Linked DNA regions of Homo sapiens: all the other regions are linked to region 3. Evidence: promoter capture Hi-C in 16 types of primary human blood cells and fetal thymus (Javierre and others, 2016). All regions are on one chromosome and are shown on one strand. Each heading gives the region's core, a stretch centred on a gene start or on the middle of the fragment in contact. The rest is flanking DNA. Distances are from core to core; before and after follow the strand shown. Region 1 overlaps PTCD3 (pentatricopeptide repeat domain 3). Region 2 overlaps IMMT (inner membrane mitochondrial protein). Region 3 holds the start of TMEM150A (transmembrane protein 150A).

Region 1 (4,556 bases), core at 1,520-4,019, 520 kb before region 3:
GCCAAAACTACTGCTGCAGACAGGCAAATTTATATACATAAGACAAACCAACACAGCTCCCCCAGAACCCCCATCCCCCAGTCCTGGCTGTTACTTAGGAAATGTAAGTACATCTGACTTTGATTAGCAATTGAACCAGTGATGAGAGTTACAGAGGAAAGGAATATACTTTGGAGTCAGAAATACTAGCTCCATCACAATCTCACCAAGGTTGAGTAAAATTTTAGGGGACACAATTATGGAAACTGTTTACCTGTTTCCAAGGTATAGTCAATTAACTGGTTCCTTTTCCTAAAGATAAAATTTGCCTATACAGGTGAGGATATGGATTTTACAAAATTAGTCCTCCAAACCAGAGAGAAACAACTTCCCTTCTGTAATTTTTATAGTCTATCCACAAGAAAGAATGACTAGAACTGTCAATTCTGAACTCAAGGGTTATTTCTCAGGCTGGGGATAATGGACAAGAACCAAAAGATTTTGAGTGCCTCATATGTGCCCTCCAAGCACAGTAGCAGACACAGTGTGGAACTCATTTAACTACCACACCCTGCTGCTATTCCTCAGGTAGGTATCTAGTCGCTTTGACATAGCTGGTAAATAAATGGTAGAGTGGACATCTCAGCTCAGGTGTGTCTCTCTTCAAAGTCCATCTACTACAGAGCAGAGCTCCCACTGGAACTGACCTAAAAGTGGACAACGCATGGAGCCTTGAGGTCCTCCCAAAACGCTTCACAATAAGTTTACCTTTCCTCTGGAGCAGAAACGTCCACAAACTTTTGGCAAAGATGGAAATGTTCTGAATCTGCATCACGACACATGGTAGCCACTAGACACATGGCTACTGAGCACCAATGTGACAAAATAATTTATTATTTTACTTAATTTTAATTAACTGGCCACATGTGGCTAGTGGCTATGGTGTTAAATAGCACAGCTCCAGAGAACAAAAGGAATTTCAACCAAAATATATTCTACCCAATTCCTGTTTGTACAACATCACTGCCAGTACAATCCATAACCCTCTCCCCTCCAGCTCAAGTTTTAGACCACAAACAAGATTGCTACCCTCAAGAATAATTTTAGGTAGTAAGACCCTGTCCAAAAAAAAAAAAAAAAAATCAGCTAGGCATGCTGGTGGGCATCTGTAATCCTAACTACTCAGGAGGCTGAGGAGGGAGGACTGTTTGAGCCCAGGAGTTCAAGGCTGCAATGGGCAAGATCCTGTATCTAAAAAAACCACAACTTTCTGCTCAGGCTGTACAGGTTAATTTACAAATTCTCTCTTCTTAATTCATATGCAGAGAAGATAACTACAACAATTAATCACATAAACTCAAGAAAGCTGGTCAATTTTCTATATAAATTAACACAATTTAAGGCCATACATACCAGGTTGATCAAACAGGCGAATAATATGGTGATATGTTGCAAGCGAGGGTTCTCAAATTACCAGGTAGACAGAAAAAATAAACAATGAGGTAAAAACACAGCAATCCAAAACATAGTTTACTGAGACACACTGAATTAAAAACATATTGTTAATATTTAAGCAAAATATGCATTTCTATTCCTTTGAACAAAGTTATTTTCCAACTCATTAATGTAAAGGTAAAAAACTATCACAAAGACTGTATCACTTTTTGAAAGTCCAAATACTTATTAGTCACATTCTTCACTGAGAACAGTAAAATATATTGAAGTGAATTGATTCCCAAAGCAACTTTCAATAAAGTAATTAATGAAAAATATACAATACACTAGCACACACTTAGGTTCAAATACCTAATTATGTTGGGAAAATGTCATGAATTTAAAACTAGCTAACTCAAAGCAATCACTTCTCCTCAGATTCAACAGATCCATAAACAAAGTACCTAAAATACTAATGAACACTAAGATGATAAAGGCACTCCCACTATAATAAGTACATGTAAGTAAATGTGCCAAACATGGAAAGAAAATTTCCAACATATTATGTAAGCACAAGAATAATTTAAAGCTCTTTGCTTATGTAGCCCTGAAACCTCTGGCTGGCACAGTCTCTGTCCTCAGAGAACTCAAGGGCGCATCCTCACCTATTCCAATGGCTTTCATTTCACGTAAAACCTGTAAGGCTGGCGATCTTGCAAACACATGAAATCTTCGGAGACATTTCAGAATGGTATTAAAAGTCTGAAGATTTGGTTTCACCTTCTGTGCAACCATGTGTCTTAGCAGCTCCTAGGTGAATAAAAAACAAGAAGTATCTTTCATGCCTGGGTAATCTGTCCAATAATCTATGTTTCATACAAAGTAAAGAATTTAGCTTTCTTGCTTATGTTTAAAGCAGGTTAGTAACTATATCCCTCTTTTAAGAACTGTTTATTAATTAGCAGGTTCCATGATTCTGCCTTTTAAAGAAGCCTGCTAATTCAAACACCCACCCCACTTGATAGAGGTGGTCAACTGTCTTCAGTCTTCTACCTAGGAGAGTTTTCCAAGAAAAGACGCAAAAATAATAGACTAGTATGATATAAAAAAGTGGTTGGTTTTTTTTTTTTTTTGAGACAAAGTTTCGCTCTTCTTGCCCAGGCTGGAGTGCAGTGGTGCGATCTTGGCTCACTGCAACCTCTGCCTCGTGGGCTGAGGTGATTCTCCTGCCTCAGCCTCCTGAGTAGCTGCGACTACAGGCGAGCACCACTATGCCCGGCTAATTTTTGTATTTTTGTAGTAGAGACGGGGTTTCACCATGTTAGTCAGGCTGGTCACAAACTCCTGACCTAAGGTAATCCACCCGCCTCAGCCTCAAAGTGCTGGGATTATAGGCATGAGCCACCGTGCCCAGCCGTTTCTATTCTTAAGTTACTAGGCGAGAATCAATCCAGTGATTTCAACTTTTTGAAATTACACCTGATAGGATTTGACAGCAAATATGCATTACTTTGTAACAGAAAAACTATTATGAAAAATAAATGAATAAAATGGTCCAGAATTCTAGCTCTATACTCTCGGTCAAGCAACTTTTTCTTCTTATGTGCCAGACACAGCTGAGTCCCAGGGCTGCGGAAAGGGTAGTGAACAGGTAACTGCTACACAGTGACTGCCATACACATGCTCATAAATGCTGTCTCCAGCCCATGTACTTCTGTTTCTTTTTCTTTTTTTTTTTTTTGAGACGGAGTCTTGCTCTGTTGCCCAGGCTGGAGTGCAGTGGTGCGATCTCTGCTCACAGCAACCTCCGCCTCCCGGGTTCAATAGATTCTCTTGCCTCAGCTTCCCAAGTAGCTGGGATTACAGGCGTGCACCACCACGCCCAGCTAATTGTTTGTACTTTTAGTAGAGACGGGTTTCACCATGTTGGCCAGGCTGGTCTCCAACTCCTGGCCTCAGGTGATCTGCCCGCCTCGGCCTCCCAAAGTGCTGGTATTACAGGTTTGAGCCACCACACCTGGCCAGCCCATGTATTTCTGGTAAAGAGTATTTAAGCCCTATTAAAAAATAAACTGAGGATTCCTCCTTACCAGTATTTTACTCCATTTTTCCTCAAATTTCTCATTTATCGCACATACTGTTGCTTCAATCAATGCATTAAATGTGTATACATCAGCTGTAAAATAATAAAATGATAAAATTTGGGGTTGAAGATTAATCCCTAAATGGCTGAGTTTAAGGCAAAGCAGTCATTCCTATGTGTCCCTTGACTAATCACATGTCCACAAAACTGGAAAACTACTCTCCTCTCTGGATCTCTACTCTTGCTTCAATCATCTACGCCTCAGGAAAAGGTAAAGTGTAGGCCAATGACTGAGGCACGATCCAAAGCCTTCACACAGACAATTAAAAGAAGGAAATGGAGAAAGGGACAGAGGGGAGTTCTCAAACTCACCATGGAGTCTGTTGTTTAGTAACTCAGTGTACAAGTTTAATGCCTGCTCATAAGCTCGGTGCTGGAAAAGGAAAAATTAAGCATCATCAAATTCATTTACTTAAGAAGTCCTTGCACATTTCTGTCCTAGAGTTTGGTAATATAGCTCAGGCTCAATAGATCAGGCTCCTGTTCTCATGAAGCTCATACTCTAGTGCAGTGGGATTTTCTATCCACTGGTAATGCCTAAACATATTTTTATTTGTCACAACTGAAAGTGGGGGAGGAGTACACTACTCACATCCAGTGGGTAGAAGCCAGGGAGCTACTAACATCCTACAATGCACAGGACAGACCCCACAACAAATTACCTGACCCAAAATGTTAGTAGTTCTGAGGCTGAAACACCCTGATCGGTGGAAATGAAAGACAAAAATAAATAAAACAAATGTACCTTCACCATTCCTCGGATCATTGTGCAATAGGAATGTTCATTTTTCTCTGGCATTAGAGAAAAGATTCTCTCAGCGTTGTTTTTTGCTCTAGACACAAGAGAGTAAATGTGAACCCAGGCAATAAGAAATACCAATGAGAGCTACCACCATTTACTGACGGTTTATTATGTTCTAGGCAATGTGCCAAGTACTTTCTATACATTATCTCAATTCTTACAGGGTATTATGGTTATTATCATTTTGAAAATGGGGAA
Region 2 (4,319 bases), core at 1,764-4,263, 540 kb before region 3:
ATCCCAAATCTGTCCACTCCATTACTACCACCTTAGCCCAAGCTGTCATCTTAACAGCTTCCACTATTTTTTCTTTTTCTTTCTTTTTTTTTTTTTTTTTTTGAGACAGAGTCTGTCTTTGTGGCCCAGGGTAGAGTGCAGTAGTGCAATCTTGGCTCATTGCAACCTCTGCCTCCCAGGTTCAAGTGATTCTTGTGCCTCTCAGCCTCCTGAGTAGCTAGACTTACAGGTGCATGCCACCACATGTGGCTAATTTTTGTATTTTTAGTAGAGACGGGGTTTTGCCATGTTGGCCAGGCTGGTCTCGAACTCCTGACCTCAAGTGATCCACCTGCCTTGGCCTCCCACGGCGCCAGAATTACAGGCATGAGGTACCATGCCCGGCCTTCCCCAAGGAATTTAAACACCAAAGTGCTGGGATTACAGGTGTGAGCCACCATGCCCAGCCAATTTGCCCTTTCTTCATACCCTTCTTTCTGTGTCTATTTACGCAGGCAAATAAAACATAGTCGAATCAGACACTACACTGCTGGAAATCCTCCATGGACTACCCATTTCATTTAATATAATTCCAAATTCTTAACCAGTACCCAAAAGGCTTCTTGATCACTGCATGCCATGAGCCATTTCACTGCTCCAGGCACCCTGGTATTTTTTGTCTGTACCTTGACTATATCTTTTGTCTTGGGACCTTTATGTTTTCTCTGCCTAGTACATTGTTCTATCCTCTCTGTTTAAACCTTGAGCTCTAAGCTTAAGTTTTAAGCCTAGATGTCACTTTGTTAGCAAGACTGAGATTTCCTATCCCTTCAGTCCAAAGTAGAGTCTCTGTATTACTTTCTGTTATGTTGCCCTGTTTATTTTAAATGTAAGGTGGGGGAAAAGGAGGTTGAAGGGGTGTTGATGCTTCACAACAGGTCCTTGCCTGCTCAGTCATATGTAGAAATATGTATCACAATCTCAGATGTCTTTTTTGTTTACTGTCTGCTGCCTCCATTGAGATATACACTGTGAGAGCAAGAAGTTCGTCTGCCCTAAGCACCATTGGATCCGTACAGATAGTAGGCACTGCCTGGCACACAGGGCTAGTAGCACTTCATAAATACTTATGCACTGACTGAATGGATTCATTGATTTATTATATTGTTTCTGAGAAAAAATAAGTTCTGGATTTCAGGTAATCAGTGTTAAGTAATTTGTAAAGTGACCTATGGCTATTTGTTAGGCAAGGTATATTTTTTGGTTTTTTTTGGCCCATGTTGAATTTAAATTCATTTAAAAATAAGCAGTTTTCTTTGTTTAGAAGTCTATGTCAAGTCTATGTCAATAACTACCAGATACTTACTAATTTTCTTTTCTTTTTTCTTTTTGAGATGGAGTCTTGCTCTGTCGCCCAGGCTGGAGTGCAGCAGCGCAATCTTGGCTCACGGCAAGCTCTGCCTCCTCGGTTCACGCCATTCTCCTGCCTCAGCCTCCCGAGTAGCTGGGACTACAGGCACCCGCCACCACACCCGGCTAATTTTTTTTTTGTATTTTTAGTAGAGATGGGGTTTCACCATTTTAGTCAGGATAGTCTCAATCTCCTGACCTCATGAGCCACCTGCCTCAGCCTCCCAAAGTGCTGGGATTACAGGTGTGAGCCACCACGCCCGGCCAACTAATTTTCTTAATGATTCTTCAAAGTAGGCATTATTACTCACAAATGAGAAAGTGGAGATTTGAGAAGATAAATCATTTCCCCAAGGTCACACAGATGGTTGTAGTAAAGCTACGCTTGATTCCAAGTATATAGTTACTTTTTTTCATATCCTGGATTTAGTTATTTCTCAGAGGAGCATGTGATTCAGGAAATGGCAGTGTTTTATATGAGAGGCAGCCTGGTGATGTGGAAAAACCACAAGTTTGGGGGTGAGAGAGACCTTTGTTTGAAATCTGGTTTTTGCCACAGCTGTGTGATCTTGTTTGAATCACCTTCCAGGGTTTAGTTTTCCGTTTCACATGAGAAGTAGAAGTGTACACATGCCTGGCACATTAGAGGCGTTCAGGATATGGAAGCTGCTGTTGTCATGGTTGATAGTGGTCTTTCTGTTTTCCTAAAAGTATATGTGGAGAATTGAAAACTAATAACTACTATGTTTGGTTTCACAGATAGAAGAAGTCAGAGATGCCATGGAAAATGAAATGAGAACCCAGCTTCGCCGACAGGCAGCTGCCCACACTGATCACTTGCGAGATGTCCTTAGGGTACAAGAACAGGAATTGAAGTCTGAATTTGAGCAGGTGAGGACCTGGACTCCCTTCAGCCACACCCCTCTTCCTGACAGGATTAAGAGACTCTCCTTTCCTTTTAATGTACTCTGAGGATGTCGAAGATTTGGAAATCTCCTTGTATGTCTACAAAACTGCTTCTTTTTACATAATGGTGTACCTGTGTGTTCATGATCAGATGTGTTTTTAAAATATATATTCTAGTCATTTGGAATCTTCAGAGCTTTAAGGAGAGTTGGTAAAGGGGATTTCAGGAATGCAGACAGTAATATTTGACATGTGTATCTTCCTCCTATAGATGGCATGGTACTGCTTAGATTTTTATAACTGAGGTAATTTCCCAGAGAAGTTTTGAAATCCCAGTAAATTATCAGGATGCCTGTAATCATAGTTTCTATTCAAGAAATCATTTACAGTAATATTAACTTGTTACTTTGTCTTGCAAGAAGATATTGAGGTTTTCTAAGTAAAATCTTCCAGAGAATCGCGATGTATGTCAGTATGAAAAGGTATTTTAAATTCTATTTGGATATTTTTCTGAGAAAAATTAATGTATAAGCTCTTAAATACAAGATATTAGAATATAATTTAATCTAATTATTATGTTTAGGTTTGCAGTACAGATAATTTACTTTCTAAAGCTGACAATTTGTGGCTGAGCACAGTGGCTAACACCTATAATCCCAGCAATTTGGGAGGCTGAGGCGGGTGGATCGCTTGAGGACAAGAGTTCAAGACCAGCCTGCCCAACATGGCGAAACCCTGTCTCTATTAAAAATACAAAAATTACCTGGGCATGGTGGTGCATGCATGTAATCCCAGCCACTCCGGAGGCTGAGGCATGAGAATCGTTTGAATCTGGGAGGTGGAGGTTGCAGTGAGCTGAGGTTGTGCCACTGCACTCCAGCCTGGATGACAGAGCAAGATTCTGTCTCAAAAATAAAATACAGTTGGCAGTTTGTTTCTGACTTTAACAGCCTTCTCTCTTCTCTTGGTATGCCTCCTCTAATATTAGGTTCCATCAGTAAACCTGTAAAGAATTATATACATCGGCCGGGCACGGTGGCTCACGCCTGTAATCCCAGCACTTTGGGAGGCCGAGGTGGGCGGATCACGAGGTTAAGAGATCGAGACCATCCTGGCCAACATGGTGAAACCCATCTCTACTAAAAATACAATAATTGGCATGGTGATGCATGCCTGTAATCCCAGCTACTTGGGAGGCTGAGGCAGGAGAATCACTTGAATCTGGGAGGCGGAGGTTGCAGTGAGCCAAGATTGTGCCACTGCACTCCAACCTGGCAATAAAGCAAGATTCCATCTCAAAAAAAAAAAAAATATATTATATACATCAAATATGAGTCAGGACATTTTTGAAACTTTACACAAAATGTAGGAATTTCGTGACAACTCTAAGGCCCTCTTTGCTTCAGCAAGTAGTTGCTGGAAGATTACACAGTTACATGACATGCATTGAGTATCACTTTTTTCTGGAACTATTTCTGTTTTATTTCAGAACCTGTCTGAGAAACTCTCTGAACAAGAATTACAATTTCGTCGTCTCAGTCAAGAGCAAGTTGACAACTTTACTCTGGATATAAATACTGCCTATGCCAGACTCAGAGGAATCGAACAGGCTGTTCAGAGTAAGCATAAGCTATGTTTATCTTACAGATAATTTTCCTCAGCATAATTTATCAAAATAATTTTATAGGGAAAATGGGGTACATGTACTGACATCAGGACATAAAAATACTAATCACTCTACTTAATTGCAGTTTTTGCCATTAAAAGTAATGGCAAAATCTATATAACTAGAAATTTATACCTTGTATGACAAACACAAAATCACCATTTACAAGGCTATTTACCCAGTATCCTTTGGCTATGTCGCATGTGCCTGGGTGGTAAGGGCTAGGGGTCAGTGTGGTCCCATGCTTGCCTTCCACAGACTTGGTGGGTTATCTGGAGGTGGTGATTTGCCGAGTCCAACTACCAAATGGACAGTATTTATGCTGAGGCCTCCATGTGCCACATTGAAAGAGAAATGT
Region 3 (4,361 bases), core at 1,063-3,562:
AACTACCTATGAAGAGCCCTTCTGTCATACGGAGCTCCATCCTGGGATAATTCTATTTTAGGAACTATTAGATTGTCATACTAAGCCAAAAGCTGCCTCATGTCCCGGATCTGGACTACTATGCCTTGCCCCCACATCATGTTAGAACTTGAGTAGTCCTCTCAGGCCTTCATCTTGATTGGATAGGGACTCAAACCCAGCTCAAGAAGATATAGTGTTAAGAATTGCAAAGCTTCCAATTAGGGTTCACAGCCCCATTGGGCAGATAAGGTGCCTACGCAGTGGGAATGCAGTTGGGCAGGAAGATGGTTCCTGTCAATTAGCAAGGAAGCACACCCTTGTCCTGAGGCACAAAGCATAGCCAGCGGCAGGTGAGCTGGATTTTATCCCCCACTGGTTTATTCAGCCAGGTGTGCTTGTACAGTGATCACTACACAGCCATACTTCTTGGCCCTGTTTTAACTACTTGTCCTAATGTGTTTAAGGACAGGGCTCTCCCGCTGGGCACGGTGGTTCACATCTGTAATCCCAGCACTTTGAGAGGCCAAGGCGAGCGGATCACCTGAGGTCAGGAGTTCAAGAGCAGCCTGACCAACATGGTGAAACCCCGTCTCTACTAAAAATATAAAAAAATTAGCTGGGCATGGTGGCAGGCACCTGTAATCCCAGCTACTCGGGAGGCTGAGGCACAAGAATCACTTGAACACAGGAGGCAGAGGTAACAGTGAGCCGAGATTGCACCATTGCATTCCAGCCTGGGCAACAAGTGAAACTCTGTCTCAAAAGAAAAAGGGCTCTCCAACAGGTTTTCTGCTTCCATTTCTGCTTTCCACTGGGTCCAAGAAGGTTTCTCCCTCTTCAAGTCATTGTGCAGTTTATTCTGCTCTACTTCTCTAAAGCACAGGACCCTGTTGTTTCACATAGCCTTTGCCTCACCAGTGTTGCCAAACTTCAGCTCCCCACGCTGGGCAACCTGCGCCTGTGCACCATTCAGGTGATGATCTGTCATCTCACAAGGGCTCCAACAGATGCTGGGACCGCCTTTGAGACAGAATGCCAGGCACACTTCTGATATGTGAAAGTATTTCCACCCTTGCAATAATTTAAGAAACATCCGGGCCAGGCGCAGTGGCCCACGCCTGTAATCCCAGCACTTTGGGAGGCCGAGGCGGGCGGATCACGAGGTCAGGAGATCGAGACCATCCTGGCTAACATGGTGAAACCCCGTCTCTACTAAAAATACAAAAAAATTAGCCGGGTGAGGTGGCGGGCGCCTGTAGTTCCCAGCTACTCGGGAGGCTGAGGCAGGAGAATGGCGTGAACCCGTGAGGCGGAGCTTACAGTGAGCCGAGATCGCGCCACTGCACTCCAGCCTGGGCGACAGAGCGAGACTCCGTCTCAAAAAAAAAAAAAAGAAAAAGAAAAAGTAAAAAAAAAAGAAACATCCAGGAATGCACTCATAGCCTGTAAGTTTTTGGTGAAGCTGGTCAGTAATTTTTCCCACACTATCCTGTTTCCTTTTCCCAGATTCCTCCGGGTCTCTCACCTTCCCCTCTTTGCTTACCAACACTGGCCATGTTAATCCTTACCTACTCTACACTGACACCTACATGTGTCTATTTAGAATGGATGTCCTCTGGTCTCTGCCGTCTTATTTCAAATAAGTGTTGATCAGTCGGGAAACACGTCTTGGACACTGATTTCTGGCTAGTACATTGTGTACTTGTATGCAGGAAAGCAAAAAGTATCTAATGAAAGCAGCCCTCCTCCGGAGTTTGCTGAGCCACAGGAACCATAAGCCAAATCCCAGGCGCTTGGATTTCTTAAGAAACAGCCAAGTCTTTGTGTCTGCTTCTCTGGACCCACCGCAGCCCTGGCCAGAGGCAGGCATGGGGCGCCACGTTGAGAGAGCTTCCTAGAGGACTCACCGTTGGCCGGTGCAGGCTGCAAAATGTGCGCAGTGGCGGAGAGACGCTCCTCCAGCCATGTGCACGGCGACAATCCCAGGTAGAGCTGGAATGCAGGCTGCCCCGAGATCCCCACCTGCTGACGCTTCCCCGGCAGGAATCGGTTAAACGGAACCTCTAGTCATCTCGGTTTTAGAGCGGTCTTCACGCCACAGCCCTCCGCGCCCAGGTCCTCCGAAGTTGGGACACCGCCCACGTTTCCCCCGTGACGCGGGCGCGGGGGCTCGGGAGTTGTAGTCTCGGGCAGGGCGCGGGCACCGAGGCCGGGGCTGCGCGGACTCCACGTCCCGGCGGGCGGCGCGGCGAGGCCTGGGGCCTCCAGGGGCGGGGCCGCTCGGCCCTTTAAACCTTTCAGGGCTGCTCCGAGGGCCGCAGCTAGAGTCGGCGCCACGAGGGGGCCGAGCAGGGTGCGGCGGCGGCGGGGCGCTCCGGGGAGGTGCGTACTGGGCTCCTTCCCTTCCTCCGGGCTTCCAGGAATCACCTGGGGACTCTCGCGTCCCGGGTCCTGGGGGGTCGCCGGCCGCAGGGTCCGGCCCCAGCCGGGGTCCCCGCGCCCAGGCGAGCGGGGGCCGGGCCGGGCTGGGCTTTCCGCGTGAACCCGCCCCTCGCCCAGGGCGCCGATGGTCAGGTGGTTGCCTGCGCGCCGCCGACTCGCCACCGCTCCACTGGGCCGGCACCCAGCCTCTCCTTGGCGTGGCCTCTTCGGTTGTCCAGCCCTTCTCCCAGCCCTGGTCCCTCAGAAGGAGGGTAACTCCCTTCCAGATGTTACGGTCCGCCTGCGTCTCTCAGCACGCCGGTGGCATTTGGGTTGACCGCGGAGGCCCCCAGTGCCAGAGGGTGTTCACGTTCTGCCGTGGGCTCAGCCCAAACTTTGGACGCTCAGAGACCCAACGGGAGCGCTGGATAAGGTGTTGACCCCCTTCCCCTCCCCCTTCCCGGCCAGTTACCCACTCCTGGACTTTGATCTCTCTCCACCAGGCCAGGACAGCTGATGGTTGTGGCAGAAACATCTCAAGGTAGCTGGTCCGCCCCCACTTCCCCATCTACCTCTTGTCCTCCCCCCAACACCACCACCACCCTGGCTCCCCTCCCTCATGACCGCCTGGATCCTCCTGCCTGTCAGCCTGTCAGCGTTCTCCATCACTGGCATATGGACTGTGTGAGTAAAGGGGGGTGCCCGGGGGGCAACAGGAGCTTGATGACGCACACAAAGTCTCTTGTCCTGTCATAGCCACGGTGGTACCCAGGGTCACTCTGGGTGTCTCAAAAGCCTGACTTGGTGCCTGGGCACACAGCCCCTTGGGACAAGCTGGCACCACTGCTGTCCAGCAGGGTGGCCCTGACAAATATACTTCTAGCCAGGGCAATTTCCAGAGGGCCTGTAGCTGGGGGCATGCTGCAGGTGCTGGTGTGGCATCAAGCCTTAGGGACCTCAACTTGAGTCCCCAGCAACAATAATGAGGCTGAATGGGGCCAGAAATCAAGGTTGAAGAGAAGGGTCATGGGGTGGGTTGAGTGGGGCTCGGGAAGGCTGCCAGGGTGACAGTTCTGTTCCCACAGGTATGCCATGGCTGTGATGAACCACCATGTATGCCCTGTGGAGAACTGGTATGAAGGACTCTGCAGACAACCTTGCTCTAAAGCTTCCTTCATCTCTGTCCCCTCTTGGGCCTGAGGCTGCCACGAGCCAGACTGCAACCCTGAGCCTCACTGCTCTTCTCTGAAATTGGTCCCCAGGCATGGCTTCTTGCCACCTACCCACTTCCCACTATCCCTTTGCCCCTTTGGTTACTGCTTCAGGCGGGCACTGGGGAGTGGGATCTTCTGTCCCTGTAGGGGAGGTCTGGGAGAGAGTCCTCTTTGAGGCCTGAGGCTATAGGCCAAGGGCCTGGGGGCAGTCCCTTCCCCCAGTCTACTCCCTGTCCTGCCTGCCAGGTCCTACAACGAGTCCTGCCCTCCTGACCCTGCTGAGCAAGGGGGTCCCAAGACCTGCTGCACCCTGGACGATGTCCCCCTCATCAGGTAAGGCCTGGACATTGGGCCGGTCAGGGAGATCTAAGGGCCTCCCAGACAGCCCCTCAAGCAAAGAGCTGTCCTTGGGTCTCAGGAACAATAAGTATCCTAAGAGCCACTTAATAACAACACTACTTGACAGTTACTGTGGGGCAGGCACTCTGCTGAGTGCTTTATATGCATTGTCTCTTTTCATCCTCCCAGGAGTGAGGCAGGTATTGTTTTCACCATTTTATAGGTGAGGAAACAGGCTCAGTCTTCCTCATCCAGGTCACACAGCTAATAAGCGGAGGCACCTGGATTTAAGCTGGAGCCCTCAGATTGCCCAGCCCGTGTTCTGGCTCAAGGATAGCCAAACCAGCCGCAGGGCTCAGCAAAGAG

Evidence for each region. Contacts are between HindIII fragments. The CHiCAGO score rates a contact against its expected background, and 5 or more counts as called.
Region 1: a fragment that was not itself captured here is called in contact with the fragment with the promoter of TMEM150A in region 3 in 2 of 17 cell types (neutrophils and monocytes); the score reaches 6.7 in neutrophils.
Region 2: a fragment that was not itself captured here is called in contact with the fragment with the promoter of TMEM150A in region 3 in 1 of 17 cell types (monocytes); the score reaches 5.3 in monocytes.

Annotation. Positions count from the first base shown.
Region 1 is chr2:86,124,828-86,129,383 of GRCh38, reverse strand. It overlaps PTCD3 (pentatricopeptide repeat domain 3), which reads right to left. Exons shown (of 24, transcript NM_017952.6): 10 at 4,302-4,389; 11 at 3,869-3,929; 12 at 3,504-3,589; 13 at 2,079-2,223; 14 at 1,393-1,443. Among named protein-coding and RNA genes, the nearest start is that of SNORD94, 8.8 kb to the left of the region's middle. The HindIII fragment of the contact is 9,969 bases long and covers 1-4,556 here.
Region 2 is chr2:86,145,663-86,149,981 of GRCh38, reverse strand. It overlaps IMMT (inner membrane mitochondrial protein), which reads left to right. Exons shown (of 15, transcript NM_006839.3): 13 at 2,149-2,280; 14 at 3,785-3,914. Among named protein-coding and RNA genes, the nearest start is that of SNORD94, 12 kb to the right of the region's middle. The HindIII fragment of the contact is 4,515 bases long and covers 756-4,319 here.
Region 3 is chr2:85,600,649-85,605,009 of GRCh38, reverse strand. It overlaps TMEM150A (transmembrane protein 150A), which reads left to right and starts at 2,312. Exons shown (of 8, transcript NM_001031738.3): 1 at 2,312-2,403; 2 at 2,946-3,126; 3 at 3,528-3,575; 4 at 3,903-3,989. The coding sequence starts at 3,062. It also overlaps a transcript of USP39 not described here. RefSeq lists silencers at 2,103-2,682, 2,783-2,842. The HindIII fragment of the contact is 3,378 bases long and covers 235-3,612 here.